Regions from separate parts of the Homo sapiens genome. Here region 2 is linked to region 1. The links are contacts of gene promoters, found by promoter capture Hi-C in human tissues and cell types (Jung and others, 2019). All regions are on one chromosome and are shown on one strand. The core of a region is centred on a gene start or on the middle of the fragment in contact, and the rest is flanking DNA. Distances in the headings are between cores, read along the strand shown.

Region 1 (2,897 bases), core at 130-2,629:
AGGCAGGGGTGTCATCTCTTTACAGATGCCTTGCTGGGGAGAGAACCGGAGTTTCCGCGAAAGCGCAGAAGTGGACACTTACGGAGAAATTCCTGTCCTCATATCAATTCCCGGCTCCCGGGATTTCCGGCACGCATTATGCACAGGCTGAGCGCTCAATAAATGTGGAATGAACGATCGACTATTTTTCTCCCCTTTCTGGTAGGTTGGTAACCTTATACCTTCAAGACGAGTCATAAATATTAGGAGAAAATGTTTTGAACTACAAATCAAAGGCTTTGAGAGCAGGCCAGGCAGAGAGAGGTCAGTTTGGTCCAAGACCAAGTTTGTGTGGGCAGCCCCGAAGCTCACAGCTGAGACCACTGTCCATGAACCTGGGTCCCCGTGACAGCCTCCAGCGGTGCTCAGAGCCCCCGAGGGACAGAAACACCCTCTCTGCCCCTATCTGCAGAGGGGGCTCAGCAGAAGGCCTGGTGGCCCCATCGGGCCTGGAGGGGCCTCCTGGGGGAGGTGGCTTTCAGGCCTGAGGCCGCTAGGACCTGCTCCGGGTTTCAGTCGGGAACCTGGGCCCTCTCCTGTGCCCCCGCCACCCCCTTTCTAGTACAGTCCCCGCGGGGGGCTGTCCTCTCCCATCTCCCAGCTCCACACCCACTTTTGGTGCGGCTGCCCTTCCTCCCTGAGCCAGGCCCCACCTTCCCAGGAGCCTCTGAGTCAGGCTGGGCTGTGGTCTGCAAACTTCCGGGCCTTTCAGGTGTCAGAAAAGTTTCTCTTCCTCCCTCTGGGGCAGGTGCACCAAGGGGCTGCAGCCTCCTGACCCCCGATTTTTTCCTGTCCAGTAGGAGGAGGTGGGGGCTTTGCTGGGCGGTGATACTCAGAGACGCTCAAAGAGACACGGAGGAGAGGCACACGAGGTGGAAAGTGAGGGAGAAAAAGGGTTGGAAGGGAAAAAGGGGAGAGGAGAGTGAGAGAGAGAAGGGGGGCAGGGGGACAGAGATGGAGAGGGAAGGATACCCCCAGCATCGCGGGACCAGCGGGAGCCACTCCCATCCCCCGACGCCCCCCCCGCCACCGTGTCATCTCACTGATGCCCCCCATCTCCTCCCCGTGCCCTCTTCTCTTCCCCCAACTCCCCGCCTCGTGCTCCCCCTCCGCCAGCTCCCCCATCCCCGCTGCGCCTACCTGGGGCGCTCATGCTCCGCCAGCCAGCTGCGCGGGGCGCCTCCTCCACGCAGGCCTCCGGCTTCCTCCAGGCGACCAGGCCCTCCGTCCCCCCGGGCCCGGAGCCGTCCTCCGAGGGGCGCCGCCCGCCCAGGGGCTGCAGGGCCGGGAGGGGGCTGCGGGCGGCGCGGGCAGGAGTCCGAAGGCCAGAGGAGGCAGGAGAGAAAAAAGGAGAGAAAGTATGTCATAGGCTGGGAGGGGCGGGGGAGGGAAATGCAAAACCCGACAGGAAATGAGACTAAAAAATGCGAAAGGTTAGAAAAAGATAAGGAAGAGAGGGAGGGGGCGGAGTCGGTGCTTCGGGAGGAGGGCGGCAAGGAGGTGGGGGTGGGAGTGGGGACAGGGCCGGGGGTGGGGGTGCTTGGGGACAGATCAGGGAGCCGGAGATGGGGAGACCAAGGCGAGTCTCAGGGCCCAGCCCACCTGCATCAGTCGGGGTGAGGCTGGACCAGTCTGGGCATCAGTCCCCACCCAGCCGTGACCCCCGGCAGAGTCCAGGTGGGGCCTTGGGAGGGGCTCTCTCCCTTCTAGGTTCTCCAGGGCACTGGCTCCCGAGATCTAGCTGAATTTCTGAAGAAATTCCAGAGCCTGTCACTGCAATGGGAGGGGAACGGGGTGCCCCACATCAAATCCTGCAGCCTCCTACACCCCAAGCCTCTTTCCTCCCTCAGCCCCTGTTCTGGAAGCTTCCTGGGCATGCCGGGTGGTCAGCACCCCTTCAAAGGCCTTCCTCACCCCGACAGCTTTGGGGTCCAAGACACCCACCATCAGCTTGTGCCCTCGATGTTCCGGTGAAGTATACTTGTAAGAGAAACTGTGATTTGGATGTCATCATTTTACTTTATTTTTATTTTTTGAGATGGAGTCTCGCTCTGTCACCCAGGCTGGAGTGCAGTGGCACAATCTCAGCTCACTGCAAGCTCCACCTCCTGGGTTCAAGCGATTCTCCCACCTCAGCCTCCCGAGTAGCTGGGACCACAGGCGTGCACCACCAAACTTGGCTAATTTTTGTATTTTTAGTAGAAATGGGGTTTCAACATGATGGCCAGGCTGGCCTCGAACTCCTGACCTCAAGTGATATGCCCACCTCAGCCTCCCAAAGTGCTGGGATTACAGGCATGAGCCTCTGCGCCCAGCTGGATGTCATCATTTTAATAATTTACCCCAAATGGCCATCGTCATGGGTGGGATGGTCCCAAGGGTTTACATGGATTGCAGACTCAAAAATCTGGATGAAAGAAAATGTGATACACACACACACGCCATGCAATACTACTCAGCCATAAAAAAGAACGAAATAAAGTATTTTGCAGCAACTTGGATGGAACTGGAGGCCATTATCCTAAGTGAAGTAACTCAGGAGTGGAAAACCAAATACTACATGTTCTTATTTAAAAGCGAGAGCTAAGCTATGGGTAGGCAAAGGCAGGCAGAGTGGGATCATGGACGTTGGAGACTCAGAAGGGGGAAGAATGGGAGGGGGTAGGGGATGAAAAATCACCTATTGGGTACAATGTATACTGTACAATGTGCACTATTCCAGTGACTGATGCACTAAAAGCCCAGACTTCACCACTATACGCTTCATCCACGTAACCCAAAACCGCAAGTACCCCTAAAGCTATTGAAATAAAAATCTGGATGAGCCATGCCTACCCAGAAAACCTTAGTTTCTATTC
Region 2 (2,700 bases), core at 124-2,623, 41 kb before region 1:
AGCAGAGAAGGCCAGCTCATCAAGAGACATGCATGCGAGTTAATAGAATTGCTTCCTTCTAACGAAGCTGTTCCTTCTCCTGCAATCCAAGAGCTCTCTGGCAATCCTGTTCCCCATTTGACACACGGCGACTCACGTTCCTCCAGGCCCACTGAGGACTGAACGTGGCAATCCTCATCCTGCTCTGCGGCTGCCCCAAGAACAGCAGCCTCACTCCTGGGGCTTCTGGGCAGCCACTTTCCTTGGCCACCTGGACCCTCGTAGGTCAGTCCTCTGCCTCCCATGCTGGGCCACTCCTTCCACTGTAGGAACCACCCAAGGTGTTTCCAATACAGGAAGCCCTTTCTCAGGGACAGCACTTTGTATCTTTCTTGAACTCATCTGGGACTACTTCCCGTATAATGTGGTGTTTTTTTGTTTTTAAGAGATGGGGTCTTGCTATGTTGCCCAGGCTGAAGTACACTGGCCATTCACAGGCGTGATCACAGCACACTACAGTCTGAAACTCCTAGGCTCAAGCAATCCACCTGCCTCAGCCTCCTGAATAGCTGGAACAATGGGTGTGTGCCACTGTGCCCAGCTCAGAATAATGTTTTTAAATACATAGAATAACATATAGGCCGCGTACAGTGGCTCATGCCTGTAATCCCAGCACTTTGGGAGGCCGAGGCGGGTGGATCACTTGAGGTCAAGAGTTCGAGACCAGCCGGGCCAACATGGTGAAACCCTGTCTACTAAAAATACAAAAATTAGCCGGGCGTGGTGGTGCGGGCCTGTAGTACCAGCTACTCAGGAGACTGACGGAGGAGAATCGCTTGAACCCAGGAGGTGGAGGTTGCAGTGAGCTGAGATCGTGACATTGCACTCCAGACAGTAAACAAATGAAACTGCATCTCAAAAACAAACAAACAAACAAAAAGCTTCTGCGGAGGCCTCAGGAGACTTATAATCATGGTGGAAGGGCAAAGGGGAAGCCAGCACATTTATGTCAGGAGCGGGAGGAAGAGAGAGAGAAGGGAAAGGTGCCACATCCTTTTAAACAACCAGATCTGGTGAGAGCTCACTCACTGTCAGGAAAACAGCAAGGGGGATGTCCATCCCTCCCCATGATCCAGTCGCCTCCCACCAGGACCCTCCTCCAACACTCAGTCACAACTGGACATGAGATTTGGGTGGGGACACAGAGTCAAACCGTATCACTCGGCCTCCCAAAATGCGAGGATTTACAGATGTGAGCCACCACACCTGGCAAATTGGGTCATTCTTATCACACCCACCTAAAACAGAGTTGGGAGGGGTGGAGGTAAAAAGCACCCGGGACACATAACATGGCTCCAGAAATGAAATTCTCTGCAAGCCCGGGCTGCGGACACTGCCAGCCGTAACCTGAAACCAGTTTTCTCTAACAGCTACTGAAACAATCTGCTATGACTGTAAGGTTAGTTTTACCCACCGCTGTCACTCACCAATCGGGGCTTGCCAGCTCCCCAAAACTTCACTGGTGACGGTCAACTTAAAGAACAATACGTAACACTTCTGTTTTAAAAATAAAACCTCAAACCTTTGTTCTTTGGACATAACGAAGACCACCCAGGTCTGTGTGTACGTCAAAAATTGTAATTCTTTGTTTTTTTTGAGGGGTCTTGTTCTGTTGCCCAGGCTCTAGTGCAGTGGCCCCATCATAGCTCACTGCAGCCTTGACCTCCCAGGCTCAAGAGAGCCTCCCACCTCAGCCTCCTGAGTAACTAGGACGACAGGCGTGTGCCACCACTCGCGGCTAATTTAATTTTTTTTTTTTTTTTTTGTAGAGATAGGGTTTCACAATGTTGCCCAGGCTGGTCTCAAATTCCTGGGCCCAAGCAATCCTCCCCCCTCGGCCTCACAAAGTGCTGGGATTACAGGTGTGAGCCACCGTGCCCAGCCCAAATTGCTGTTCTTACTTCTCAAGTAAAACTTCTGAATTGCAGAGATTCGTCTCTACAGTTTATTTGATGTCAACAACTCCTATATATCCAGTGCCTGGCCCAGAGCTCAATAACAACCACCAACTGTGTGGAAGAGTCCGATCTGATTCTAACTCTACAGTAAAGGACGCCCCACAGTCATTGAGAGGCCACGAACACTGCAGCAGATGGCACAAGGTGGTCTGCTAGTCTCCTGCCTAACTCATCATCACAGCCTGGCCTATTAAGAACAATTCCTTGCCAGAAGGGCCTCTCTCTAGCCTTACCCCATTGCAGCATCAGCTTACTGGTGGGTTTTGGCAAGAACCCGAAGTTAAGACGGGCACGGGAATGATGCCTCCACGTCCGATCAGCGCCAGAAGGTGCTGCTGCGACCTCTTCTTCCCCGCTCCCCCCAGTCATTTCTTCCCTGCCTGGACTCACTCTGTGGGAAGTGATGGTATCTGAGGACTGCAATATGCTCCACGCCAGGCCCCCATCCATCACCAGCTTCCTGCTGGTTACCATGGAGACGGAATGTGGGGTCCCCACTGGGATGGCACATTCAGAGTCCCTGGGCGAGGGAGTATTTGTGGGCAAAGGGACACTGTGAGATCCAGGACCACCCAGAGTGGGGCCACGCAGAGGTCCACGCAGGCAAGAGAGGCCAAGGGGGAAGGAGGCAGCTGAGAAAAACTGCTGGATGTGCACAGAACTAAGGGCAGCATCCATGAACGTCTGGAAGACCAGACCAACC

Evidence for each region. Contacts are between HindIII fragments. The study calls those that stand out against the background at their distance.
Region 2: a fragment that was not itself captured here is called in contact with the fragment with the promoter of CARD11 in region 1 in 1 of the 25 tissues and cell types used here (pancreas).

What each region holds. Positions count from the first base shown.
Region 1 is chr7:3,042,488-3,045,384 of GRCh38, forward strand. CARD11 (caspase recruitment domain family member 11) reads right to left here and starts at 1,380. Exons shown (of 25, transcript NM_032415.7): 1 at 1,180-1,380. RefSeq lists a silencer at 1,093-1,442 and an enhancer at 1,308-1,602. The HindIII fragment of the contact is 17,820 bases long and covers 1-2,897 here.
Region 2 is chr7:3,001,665-3,004,364 of GRCh38, forward strand. The region is part of intron 1 of CARD11 (caspase recruitment domain family member 11); the gene reads right to left. Among named protein-coding and RNA genes, the nearest start is that of CARD11, 41 kb to the right of the region's middle. The HindIII fragment of the contact is 4,607 bases long and covers 1-2,700 here.